3 separate regions of the Homo sapiens genome follow, and regions 1 and 3 are each linked to region 2. Evidence: promoter capture Hi-C in 16 types of primary human blood cells and fetal thymus (Javierre and others, 2016). All regions are on one chromosome and are shown on one strand. The core of a region is centred on a gene start or on the middle of the fragment in contact, and the rest is flanking DNA. Distances in the headings are between cores, read along the strand shown.

Region 1 (3,990 bases), core at 1,255-3,754, 47 kb after region 2:
TCTGTTCTCCTCCCCACTTCTGTTCCCATGCACACGTTTATAGAACACCCCATTTAAACTTGTTTCTATTAATTCTTGTTCCTTCCTTCCTTTCTTTCATTCAAATATTCAACAAATATTTACAGAGTTTCTGCTCTGTGCCAAGTACTAGGCTGCTTCAGTGAGCAAAAATAGACCTGGCCTCTGCTCCTGTGGAGCTTATGTTAGCCACAAGATCCCCTCTATGTGTGCAACCCAAGGGAATGGAAGGAACATGTGTTCTAACTAGAGAGTCAGGGAAGGCTTCCCTTGAAGTAACACCTGAGCTGAGATCTGAAGGGAGAGAAGGATTCACATTGCTGAAAGGATGGGGCAGAGGGCAGAATATTCAGGAATAGGAAGCAGGATGTGTAAAGGGGCTAACGGGAATAGGACACACACTTCAAGCAGATGAAAGAATGCCACCAACTGGGGGACGCGGGCAGATTGATCAGGGTCGTTGTGAAAAATGACAAGAACACTCTGGGAACTTTCATAATCATTTGGGCTTCAGATACTGTTTTACAAATAAGTCTATATTCTGTGACGTGTAGGAAACATCTTAATTTTTAATATATATGGGACTGATTTCATTCTTAGGAAAACTAGAGAAAAAATACTTCAATTTCTTGAACCCCATATGTTTTAAAAACTATACCATAAGGAAAATACTTAATTCATAATTACATTTTTCTCTCCTTTTTCCTGTATAAGTAGTAGCAAATTCTGTAGTTCTGTAATTTATTGATACATAAACTAAAAAGTTCATACGTTCAAGTTTTACATTGAAGGTGCTTTCCTTCCTACTTGCAGGTAATATGCATTTCTGCTGCCTGGAGGCAGAGAGTGAGTCTGTGGACTACATATTCACCAGAGAATCTTAGTACTGGAAAGGGTGGCCAAGGCCATGTTGTCTGTCCTTTTTTTATCCTTTCTGTCTTCCTCCTCCTGTGCTGTCAGTTTTATTCCTCTTCAGAGGCCTCTGTAAGGAGGCTCATTGGTGAGCACCAATGTGTTTGGTTTTTCAGGAATTGATGATCAGGGATATGGCCGAGGCTCTCACCCAGTGGAGGCAGCTGAACTCTCCTCAGGGAGATGTGCCTGAGAAGCCTAGGAATCTGGTCTTGCTGGGTAAGGATGGCTCCCCCAATGCCTGTGAATTTACCCAGTGTGGTACCTTGTCCTCCTCAGTTCCTAGGAGCTCCAAGGTCCTTATATTCAATGATTCTTAATTCTAGTAGGGCCTGAGACAGGCAATTTCTGCCTTTTGTTTCTGGATATAGTTTTAACACTCCTGGAATTAGACATAAACACCTTTATTTTATGGACTTGTAGCATCCTTCTTCTCAACTCCTTGACCAAGGATGTGGAGACAAAGTGCTAATGAAAACAACTCTTAAGAGAATGGATGCTTATTCTTTAAATAGGGGGAGGTAAAATTGATAAGGGACTCAAACCCCTATCAATCTTCCTACCTCGTGAACACTGTTGAGGAAGAAATGGAGAACTGACCTCACTCTCTCCCTCTCTTACCATGTTCCTAAAGACCAGGGAATGAACACTGAGGTCTTCACCAGACTCCTTTTTCTTTCCCTATGAATAGGGCTTCCAATTTCCACACCTGATGTAATCTCTCAGTTGGAGCATGAGGAAGAGCTGGAGAGAGAAGTCTCAAAGGCAGCCAGTCAAAAGCGTGAGTGTTGGAAACAGTGCAAGTAAAACCCAGATTGTCAATGCAAATGCTTGTGGAGGAGGAGCCTGTCCAGATTTTGCTAGACCCATGGAAAAGTTGAAGTCCCTGTCTCACCCCTATGCCACATCCTAGCTCTGTGGATGGTTATCTGTTTATAAAGTTATAATTTGATTTTTTAGAAAGTAAATACTTTCTACTCTTTCAAACCAATTCTTTTTCCCAAATAAGGTAAAATGAAACCAACATTTTAATGTTTGTTAATAACTTGCTTGGGTTCAAGGCTCTAAAGCAGGATTTTTTACATGTGTTATTTTATCTTTGCTGGATGCCATTTTTTTGAGTCTCAGATCAATGACTGTAAATTCATCTCTGGGTTTTCCCTTGCCACCTTCTCTGTCTAAGCAGAGGCAGCATAGCATGATGGTTAAGACTGCAGACTTTGGAACTAAGCTTCCTTGGTTTAAAGCTGATCTTAGCTACTCATTAGCTTTGTGACCTTTAACAAATGACTTGTGTTCTCTGTGACTTAAATTAAAATGGGGATAATGATAGCACAGAGCTTATACTGTTTTGGTGGTGATCAAAGGAAATAATCCAAGAGAAATGTTTTAAACAGTACCTGGCTATATGCTAAGCAAAGATAGCTATTAAGTCCTAGTAACTTTTTTGAAAGATGTTATGGATTTGACCCTGTTACTTCTGTCAAACTGGATTACTGCAAAAGACTGTTGGCTAATTATACTTTCTTTTACTCTTACCCTTGTAAAATTGAGGCAGCATAATACTGCTAGATTCCCCATTGAGTTGCTTACTCTGCCAGCTCTGTATTCCTCTACCTGCTTTCAAAGCCGTTGTTAGTCTGCCTAACTTTTTTGCCTTCTCTGTTCTTCAACTTGAACTCTTAACATCAGATAGGCAAGTCCCTCACTATCCTCCACTAACTGTGTGTTCATGAACATTTGGGGCTTTAATTTTTTCCACTCCCCTTAGCTGGATGTCCATTTGCTTTTAACCTATTCTACCTATTTGTCCTTTAAAATCCCAGGCACTTCCCTGAATATATCTAGTTGAGAACACTGTATTGTATTAATTTATTTCATGTAGAGACATGATTGGAATGGGTGTTAAAGACCATTTAAGCTTGGAAGTATTTAAACATTTTTAGCAATGAAGCTTTTCCCCCTCAAATTCTTACTAGGAAGCCCAGGAACTTGGGGTAGATATCTTGAGAGGTTGGGGACTCATCTGAACACATGGAGTTTTGACCTTCCCCTCCCAACACACTGCTGTTTTTCTCTTTCTTTCCTTTCTCTCTTTTTTCTTTCTTCTTGGTTCTGTTTTACTCTTTCCAGTTTGCTGGGTCTAGGGTGATGGTAAGCAATCAGAGGTGATTAGTTGCTTTCCAATTAATAAGCTTTGTGGTCATTTGAGTTTGTAGACCTGGACTATGTTGAATGCTAGCTTCTAGAATTTGTGTCTTATCTTGAGACAGTAGAACCAACAGATTTTTGTGAAAGGGAGATGGTTTTGAGCAATTAGTCTTTTAGCAGTGGTTGGGACATATTGGAGTAGGAAAAGATTGGTGGCAAGGAGATTAGCTAAAGATGGTCATTCTTGAGGCATGAAATGATAAGGCTCTGGTCAGATGGGTACAGTGAGTCTTTGGAAGACCATCTTTCTCTGATCCTATCTCCTCTAAAGGATCTATCTCCTCTAGATCCTTTTTTAAAAAAATCTGCTATTTCTCCATATCACCTCTTCTTAGTCTCATTCTGTTATTTTTTGTTATTTCCTATCCTGCTGCATAGAGGAATGTTGAGTACCTGCACACACACTCCTTTTATGCCGTCGTACTTCTTTGTCCAGTCATCTTTTTTTTCTTGTGTTCTCTCAAGATTGCAAGACTATTTTTGAGAGCTTTCAAGTTCATGTGTTCCCTGTAAATATTCCTAACAAAGAATGAAACAAACATGTTTCATTAATTTCCTACCACAGCAGTTATTTTTCTCTCAGTGTAGGAAATGATACACATGTGTGTTTTTGCTTATTTCAGACTGGGAAACAATACCAGAAAGCAAGGAGCTAACTCCAGAGAAGGATATTTCTGAAGAAGAATCGGCTCCTGGGGTGTTAATTGTAAGATTTTCAAAGGAAAGTTCTAGTGAATGTGAGGATTCTTTAGAGAGTCAGCAGGAAAACCATGAGAAACATTTAATACAAGAGGCTGTCACTGAGAAATCTTCTAGGGAGAGAAGCTACCAATCTGATGAATTTAGAAG
Region 2 (4,530 bases), core at 1,263-3,762:
TAAAATTGTTGTTTTCAGCCACTAAGTTTGGAGTGGTTAAACAGCATCAGACGGCCATAACATCCTGCAATTTGGCAGAGCCTACAAGCTTCTGGGCCCAAGAGATACCTGTTTTACTCTAAAAAGATGGATGTATGTCACTTCTTGGCTGCTTAGCTTCCATATGCTCCTCCTAACTCTTTTGAGAATATCAGTTAAAATTCTCTTAATCTTCCCAGTAACATGGCCGATTAGATGGCCTAAACAGCCCTCTTAATAAAAAAACTAAAAATGCTGAAAAATTGCAAACATCTTTATAAACACACTGATGAGCAGGCATGAAAGTGAGGAATTTGTAAACATTTAAAAAAATAAAGTGAAATGGGCCAGGTGCAGTGGCTCATGCCTATAATCCTAGCACTCTGGGAGGCCGAAGAGGGTGGATTGCTTGAGCCCGAGTTTGAAACCAGCCTGGGCAACATGGTAAAACCCCATGTCTACAAAAAAATACAAAAAGTAGCCAGACATGGTGGTGCATGCCTGTAGTCCCAGCTACTCTTGAGGCTGAGATGGGAGGACTACGTGAGCCCAGGAGGTGGAGGTTGCAGTGAGCTGAGAGCATGCCACTGCATTCTGGCCTGGCTGACACAGCCAGAGCCTGTCTCAAAAAATAAATAAAGTGAGAGCTAGAATTCTGAGAATCGAGCAACAAACCTGACTTTTAGACTGCTAAATCCTAGAGCACATAAACTTCCACTTTGGCAGCTACCTGGAAGCGGTAAAGACAAAGCCTAGGGCCTGCCAGTGGGTGGGGAATATTCTAGAAGGAAACACTTTCAGGACCCCAGTTTCCACCCTCAGTATAAGGCTAAATAATAAAAACCACCACACAGAAGGGAACAAAAAAAAAAAAGTATTTCTCTTATGGATGTTGTGACTTTAATCAAGCTCTAATCTCCTAGGAAGGTCCAAACCCCTTAGTACAACACAAAGGCAGCCACAACCTGGCCTTACCTCAAGATAGTTATTGGCCCCTAAACCTCATCCACAAGGCATTCATTTTGCTACTAATTATTTTCACTTTTATCCTCTAGACTATGCCTTTGCATGTACTATTCACTGTTTAGATCACACTTTTTTTTTCTTAAGTATTTAAGTATACCAGTGAAAGGAATCCTTTCCCACCTTTCCCGGCCATAGTTAATAGCTTCCTCCATTGTACTCTCATAGTATGTTGAATGTGACATAATTATAGAACATACTGCCTCTATTGTGATTTTACATTCTGATTTTTTCCATTGGACCAAGAGTTCATTTGGGGCAGTAACTTACTCATATTTGTAACTGTGCCTTGCTTATGGTGAGCAATTTGGATTTTTTGAATGAAAGTGTAGTCTTATGGAGATGGAGAGTAGAAGGATGGTTAACAGACTGGGAAGGGTTGGCGGGGTGGGGAAGTGGGGATAGTTAATGGGTACAAAAAATAGAATAAGAAATAGTATAACTAGTATTTGATAGCACATCAGAGTAATTACAGCCAATAATATTGTATATTTTAAAGTAACTAAAAGAATATAACTGGATCGTTTGTAACACAAAGGACAAATGCTTGAGGTGATGGATATCCCATTTGTCCTGATGAGATTATTACTTATTGCATGCCTGTGTCAAAATATCTCAGGTGGCCCATAAATGTTCACACCTACTGTGTACCCACAAAAACTTAAAAAAAACCCAAACCACTAATAAATTAACCTGGAAAAACGTAGCTTTGTTCCTGAAGTAAGATTTTATCATATTCTTTGTAATTTTCAGTCTTCCCTGAGATGTAGCTCAGTGGTTCCTAGCTTTAGCTGCACATTAGAGTCACCTGCAGCTCTTTTCAAACTGTCGCTCCACAGCTGGGCCTCAGGCATCAATGTCGAAAGCTCTCCGGGTGATTCCAGCTTGCAGCCAGGGCCGTTCCAGCAACTCCAAGGCTGGCTGGTGTGCGCTGAAGCTGTCGGGAGTCGGACCAGCTGCACAGTTAATACATATGTGTCCTAGGCTCCTCTCTCCTTCCAACGCAAATATGTGTACAAACCCTGCCTGGAACCGCAGCCCTGCTCTCAGAATCAAATTCCTGAAAGTGGGCAAGCGGAAGCGGAAATAAGCCCTCTCCCAACGCCAGCTGACTCGATTTCGTCTCGGTCTTCCCCAGAGCTGGACACGAGGCACCATGATCAGAGAGACACATTCCCTGCGGACGGCGCTCCCATCGGATACTGGAGGGACGCGACACTAGAGGCAGGCAGTACTTCAGGGTGACCATAAGTCTCCCAAACAGCCACAACGGCTCGCTCTCCCAGCTAAGGCGACAGCGCTGCCATTTTGGATCCTGTTCAGCCACGGGAAGCCGGCGTTTGCACACATTTTCGGACGTCATATTAAAGCGCACCGGACGCCGAGACTTCTGGGAGATGAAGTCCTTGCGAAGGCCCCGCATTGATTGGGAGCGCAGTCGCCAGGACCCTGTGCGCAGGCGCGTTGGTTTCCCGACCTGAAGAGGCGCCGTCTTCCCGGGTCCCGAGCACTCTGTGCCGGAGGTGAGGGTTGTGGGTGTGTGTCTTCAAGGAGCGGAGTGAGCGCAGCAGCCGAGAGAGGGGACATGAGAACTTTGGGGAGGTGCTGTGGGAGCAAAACGGGGTGACACGGGCGAGGCCAGCCTGCAGAGCGTGTGTCGCGACGTCTCGGTGCGGACGGAAAGTTGTGCATCCACCCCCGTGTGTGCGTGTGTCCCGTGGGGTCTGGGCACCCATTGTATGTCGGTCCCGGACTTTAAGGTTGGAGGTTTGGAGTCTTCCTCCGCCTCTCCCGTTTCTTCTTCCCATAATGGGTGCTTAATGAACGTGGGTGGAATTGACACCAAATCTAGGATGCTGCCGCTCCGTCTTTGCCAGACAGCGCCTCAGATTGCCTCATTTAGCTCCCTGCCCTGGGCCTCCGCACGAGTGCTGGAGGGCTTCATGGAGGAGGTGGGATTTGACGTGAAAGAAAAACAACAACAACAAAACAAAAACCACGAAAGAAGCAGCTAAGCGTTAGGCAGATTTGAGCTGGAGATAGTTTTTACAGAAATGCAGGAACAGTGGTAGACAAGGTTGAAGAAAAGGTACGCTGGGAGCCAGGGCCCGGGACTCAGAGAATCAGGACAAGACTCAGTAGGCAAGGTGGCTTATATAGGTGTGATCCAGGGACTGACACGAATGAAACTATTTGGAGACAGTTATTCTAGAGGTCACATTCAGGACTAGAGAGGGGAAAGGACCAGTAGCAGAGAGCTACTTAGGAATGTATGGTAGTTTTGGAGTAAGATGTTGTGGACTTGAATTATGGTGGTGGTAGTGAAAGGGAAGGATACAGATGACACTGCAAAAGAAGAGTCAAAAGGGCCTGGTGACTAGATTTGGGAGGAAAGAGAGTGAGGTAAGAGTTTGAATTTGGGACACCTGGGAGAACAATAAAACATCTGATACAAATGTAAAGCCAGGAAGAGGCGTTGATGTGTGGAATTGCCTAAAGGAAGATAGTTTTGAGGTGATGGTGGAACGCCTGATTTAAGGTTTGCAGTCATTTGGAAATGCAGGATGAGTCTGGAAGAATGCAATACAGTTGTATTGTAAAATTACAATACAATTACAGGACATGGACATCTGTAGAGTTTGAAAATGGAGCCCTGAATGTGGATGGACTTTCTGAGGGATGGCAAAAACGAAGAAAGTACAAAGACTGAGCTATGGGCAGCATCCATGTTTCCAGGGCAAAAGTGGGGAAAAAGAGTCACAGAAAGACAGCAATTTTAGTGGTTGGAAGAAAAGCTAGTGCAGTATCATAGCAGTTACAGTAACCACTTGAATAAGCAGAAGCTTGTCCGAACAGTGAAAAGCTACAGAGAAATAGATAATATGGCCGGGCACAGTGGCTCACGCCTGTAAGTCCCAGCACTTTGGGAGTCTGAGGCGGGCGGATCACGAGGTCAGGAGATCGAGACCATCCTGGCTAACACGGTGAAACCCCGTCTCTACTAAAAAAATACAAAAAATTAGCCGGGCGTGGTGGCGGGCGCCTGTAGTCCCGGCTACTCGGGAGGCTGAGGCAGGAGAATGGCATGAACCCGGCAGGCGGAGCTTGCAGTGAGCCAAGATTGCGCCACTGCACTCCAGCCTGGGTGACAGAGCGAGACTCAGTCTCAAAAAAAAAAAAAAAAAAAAAGAAAGAAATAGAGATAATAGGATCAGAAATGCATTGGTAGGCCAGGTGCGGTAGCTCATGCCTGTAATCCCAGCACTTTGGGAAGCCGAGGTGGGCAGATCACTTGACGTCAGGAGTTCAAGACCAGCCTGGCCAACATGGTGAAACCCCGTCTCTACAAAAATACAAAAATTAGCAGGGCATGATGGCGGGTGCCTGTAATCCCAGCTACTTGGGAGGCTGAGGTGGGAGAATCACTTGAGCCCGAGAGGTGGAGGTTGCAGTGAGCCGAGATGATGCCATTGCTCTTCAGCCTGGGCG
Region 3 (4,383 bases), core at 1,188-3,687, 64 kb before region 2:
AGGCAAGTTCTAGTGCATTAACACAACTGATTCTGTATTTGAGGGTTTTTTCCTGATTTATTTCCAAGCCATGGCTCTAGCAACGTTGTATTAGAAGCTTTGATATGAAATTTTAAATATAATGTTTCATCTCTTCTGACTCACACTTTTTGAGACTTATATACCAAAAGTTATATAAAATCATTTTTTACTGTAGAACTACAGGTGAAATGCAAATCAGCAGGTTCAAGAATCCTACACTCAGAGACCACTAGGCATGACTGCCCTAGCCCATGACCCTGAACTCTGCCTGCCTGCCTGCTTGTCCACAAAACAGGAAAGACCATCTCTGCATCATCCCTAGTGCTTAGCATAGCACCCAGCTCACAGAAGGCATTCAATCAGAATTTGATGAGCACTAAACACCTGGACCTGAGTCAGAACTGAAACACCTAAATGCATCAATGAATTCCCTATGAGGAACTAATGTTCCCACTCCTCCAAACCCTACTACTCACTCAGGTGCTATTTCCCGTTTCCAATGTGCTCTCCCCACCGTAAATTATTCCTGGAACAGGCCTGTGCTCACAGTAGCCTGTGTGCCTTGACTATTCTTATTTCTCCAAGAGCCTCATCGTTCTTAAATCTAACATAAGCCTTTTACATTTTGGTGTTTCCAAGATGAGTTCAACTAAAGATGAACAAAAATAGAGGAGAGGATAGAACTGTTATAATTTCTCTGCTTTATCATCAACAAATGGTAAGAGTTTTAAAGTTACCTTTGGGTTGTTTCTTCATCTTGATATGCGTCCTTTTAAATCTTAATGAAATATCATGGAATACTGGAGGGTAAAAACATAAACACAAGAGGATTAGGTGTGTGGCTTTAATAAGCCTTTGCAAATATCACAAAGCAATGTATACTAGCCTCAACAGCCAGCACATATTGACCAAAGATAAATGGTAAGCTCTGATTTCATTCATTTTAGTAACCTTCTTAGGAGATTTGTTTTCACACTTCATATATTTGTAAGAATGTAATAAGAGAGAAACACAAAGATACCTATAGAGATACATTGTCACACAGACTTTAACAAATGTAATCCTGCAAATTAAAAAAAAAAAAATAGATTATCACTCACTTGTATGGTCTTCATATCGTTCTATATAATGCAAATGGTGAACTGCTCTGTTCTTTGCCTGAAAGGAAAATGTTTTTCTTAACTCTATTGTTGAAATTTACATCTTTTCAAGGATTCCAAAAACACTTTTAATAAAAATGTTTCATTATCAAAAATTCACTTACGCAAAAAGGTTAGTATATACTTCTAAAATATAAGGACTTATTTTTTAAAACTCTTAACTACAATATCACTATCACCCCTAAAAAAATTAACAATAATTCCTGGCTAGGCATGGTGGCTCACATCTACAATCCCAGCACTTTGGGAGGCCGAGGCAGGCCAATCACTTGAGATCAGGAGTTCGAGACCAGTCTGACCAACATGGAGAAACCACATCTCTACCAAAAATACAAAAGTTAGCCGGGTGTGGTGGTGGGCACCTGTAATCCCAGCTACTTGGGAGGCGGAGGCAGGAGAATCACTTGAATTCAGGAGGCGGAGGTTGCAGTGAGCCGAGATCGTGCCACTGCACTCCAGCCTGGGTGACAAGAGTGAGACAACGTCTCAAAAAAAAAAAAAAAAAGTAACAATTCCTTAGTATCTTCAAACATTCTGTCAGTGTTCAAACTTCCACAATTGTCTCATAACTTGGCTAGACAATTACAAATCTGATAAAAAATGGTGCAAAGGAATATAAGTACTTCTGAAACTGATTTTTATGAGCTAATTAACCCTTGACAGCAAGCCTCATGGGAAGGTTCTGGGACAAATTATTATTGTTTTGTGGTTCCCACTGTGTCTGGCATATAACTTACTAATCTTTTACTGAGTGTCAACAAAGAAAAAAAATGTACATACTTTCCTGAAAGCATCCATCCGATCAGTAGCTTTCCCAATAGAAAAACCTTTAAACAAAAAAGCAAAAATAAGAAAAGAGACAGAAATTTTGCCCATGTGGTTTTTGCCACATTTCAAGTTTCTGCTCCTACAATATTTCACAGCACTTCATCTTTCCACCACCCACAAAAGACTTGCTATACAAAACCATTAATAGGCTGGGTGTAATGATTCACATCCGTAATCTCAGCACTTTAGGAGGCTGAGGTGGGAGGATCGCTTGAGCCCAGGAGTTTGAGACCAGCCTGAACAACACAGCAAGACTCTGTCTCTATTAAGAACAAAATTTAAAAAATTAGCCAGGCATGCTGGTGCATGACTGTGGTCCCAACTACTCAGGAGGCTGAGATGGGAGGATTACTTGAGTTTAGGAGTTTGAGGGTACAGTGAGCTATGACTGTGCCACTGCACTCCAGATAGAGCAAGACCCTGTCTCAAAACAAAAAAAAAAAACCTAACAATAACAAAGCACGAGGCTACAGAGATCTGTTTTGAAGCATTCTGGAAATAACAAATTTAGATGTATTTATAAAATCCAAGGTTAGATGCTGCCTTTTAAAAATATCTAGATAAAATACACTCAATTTAAAAAAAACTAAATATGCTTTAAATGAATTAGGCAAATCACTTTGAACATTTAAAGATAGATTAAAATAATCAGAAAGGGGCCAGGTGCAGTGGCTCACGCCTATAATCCCAGCACTTTGGGAGGCCAAGATGGACAGATTGCTTGAGCTCGAGTTCAAGATGAGCCCGGGCAACATAGTGAGAATCCATCTCTACAAAAAATATAAAAATTAGCCAGGCATAGTGGTAGGTGCCTGTAATCCTTGCTACTCAAGAGGCTGAGGTGGCAGGATCACTTGAGCTCAGAGAGTTGAGACTGCAGTAAGCCTTGATGGTGCAACTACACTCCATCCCAGGTGACAGAGCAAGACCCTGTCTCAGGAAGGAAAAAAATATCAGAAAGGTTGGGAAAAAACATCCACTGCTATAGAGTAAAACCATGATTTCAATGGAACTTCAAATGGAATTCAGATTTTAATTAGCCAGGAAACCAAATCAATGACTCTTTAGTTTATGAACACTTCACTATGAAATACAGTTTACCAGCAGTTACAGAGATACTGCCATTATCTGCTGCCACTGTATTTTGTTTTGAACAACGTATTTTGTTTTTAAATTATACATGGGAAAATAACATAAAACAATACTGCTCTATAAGATACAAGGGACCTCTGAGACCTGGGACAAAAGAGGATGTGAATGCCAATTCCTAGTTTAAACAAAACAAATTAAACCATGGAAGTCCTAGAGGAAAATATGGGGAAACTTACTAACATTTACAATCTTCAAATGAGGCTTTCTAAGCAAGACACAAACCCGAAGTGATAACTAATATTTATAACCCTGTAGTGATATAAGACTGATAAATTTGCCACAGAGCTTAAAACTTCTGTGTGGAAAAAAATTAAAACCTAAGTCAAAATATCTGACTAAGGGCTAATGTCCTTAACTTACAAAGAGCTTATACCATTCAATAAGAAAAATAATAACCACCCAACAGAAAAACGGGCAAAGCATATAACGAACAGATCTCAAAAAGGAAATAACAACAGCCAATAAACATGTAAAATGGTGTTCAAGCTCTCATAATTTAAAAAATGCAAATCAAAACTGAGAGATTTGTTTCACAGATCATACTGACAATCAGTAAGGTCTGATGAAACCCGAAGTTGGCAAGGGTGAGATGGTGTAGAGAAACACAGACATTGATGCAACCTTTTGTGGGGAGGCAATCTAGGAATATTTATCAGCACTTAAAATACATATAACCTTGGGGCAGCAATTTTACTGCAAGAAGTTTCCCCTATTGATATACTTGCAGAAGTAAAACAAATTACACATAAACGAACTGTACAGTTTTTTATAATTAGTAAAAATTTGGAAACAACTTAAATATTCAGCAGTAGGGAAAAGGTTACAAAAATTATCCATGCACAATGGAACACTTTGCAACCAGTACAACGAATCAAGGAGAATGTTTATGTTAATCTGAGTATTAATATCTCTGAATATAATACTATGTCAGAAAATCAAGGTGCAAAATTATGGCTATAATGTGATCCCTTTATGTAAATTTTTTAAAGATGTATGATAATAATATGAACATAAAATTTAGGAAAATTACAAAAGTAGCTGTTAGGCCTGGTTTCCTTTGGCCACATACTATATATATATGTATTACTTTTGTTAAATGTCAGTATGGGCTAACTAGGCCATTTTCCTGTGTTCTTTTCCTTCAACAGACATGAATACATTTCAAAAACAGGTGTCCACTATGTTAACTATACATAGGAGAAAATTTAAATCATCAGCAAAC

What was found. The method cuts DNA at HindIII sites, captures the fragments that hold promoters and counts their contacts. A CHiCAGO score of 5 or more calls a contact.
Region 1: a fragment that was not itself captured here is called in contact with the fragment with the promoter of ZNF2 in region 2 in 15 of 17 cell types (naive B cells, total CD8 T cells, total B cells and 12 more); the score reaches 17.3 in naive B cells.
Region 3: a contact is called between a fragment that was not itself captured here and the fragment with the promoter of ZNF2 in region 2, in 2 of 17 cell types (total CD8 T cells and naive B cells). The highest score is 5.9, in total CD8 T cells.

Annotation. Positions count from the first base shown.
Region 1 is chr2:95,210,572-95,214,561 of GRCh38, forward strand. It overlaps ZNF892 (zinc finger protein 892), which reads left to right. Exons shown (of 5, transcript NM_001395961.1): 3 at 1,047-1,149; 4 at 1,622-1,711; 5 at 3,765-3,990. Among named protein-coding and RNA genes, the nearest start is that of ZNF892, 5.0 kb to the left of the region's middle. The HindIII fragment of the contact is 690 bases long and covers 2,160-2,849 here.
Region 2 is chr2:95,163,297-95,167,826 of GRCh38, forward strand. ZNF2 (zinc finger protein 2) reads left to right here and starts at 2,513. Exons shown (of 5, transcript NM_021088.4): 1 at 2,513-2,564. RefSeq lists enhancers at 1,501-2,137, 2,138-2,772, 2,200-2,629. The HindIII fragment of the contact is 3,796 bases long and covers 87-3,882 here.
Region 3 is chr2:95,099,716-95,104,098 of GRCh38, forward strand. MRPS5 (mitochondrial ribosomal protein S5) reads right to left here. Exons shown (of 12, transcript NM_031902.5): 8 at 1,962-2,008; 9 at 1,122-1,179; 10 at 759-821. Among named protein-coding and RNA genes, the nearest start is that of MRPS5, 20 kb to the right of the region's middle. The HindIII fragment of the contact is 4,684 bases long and covers 96-4,383 here.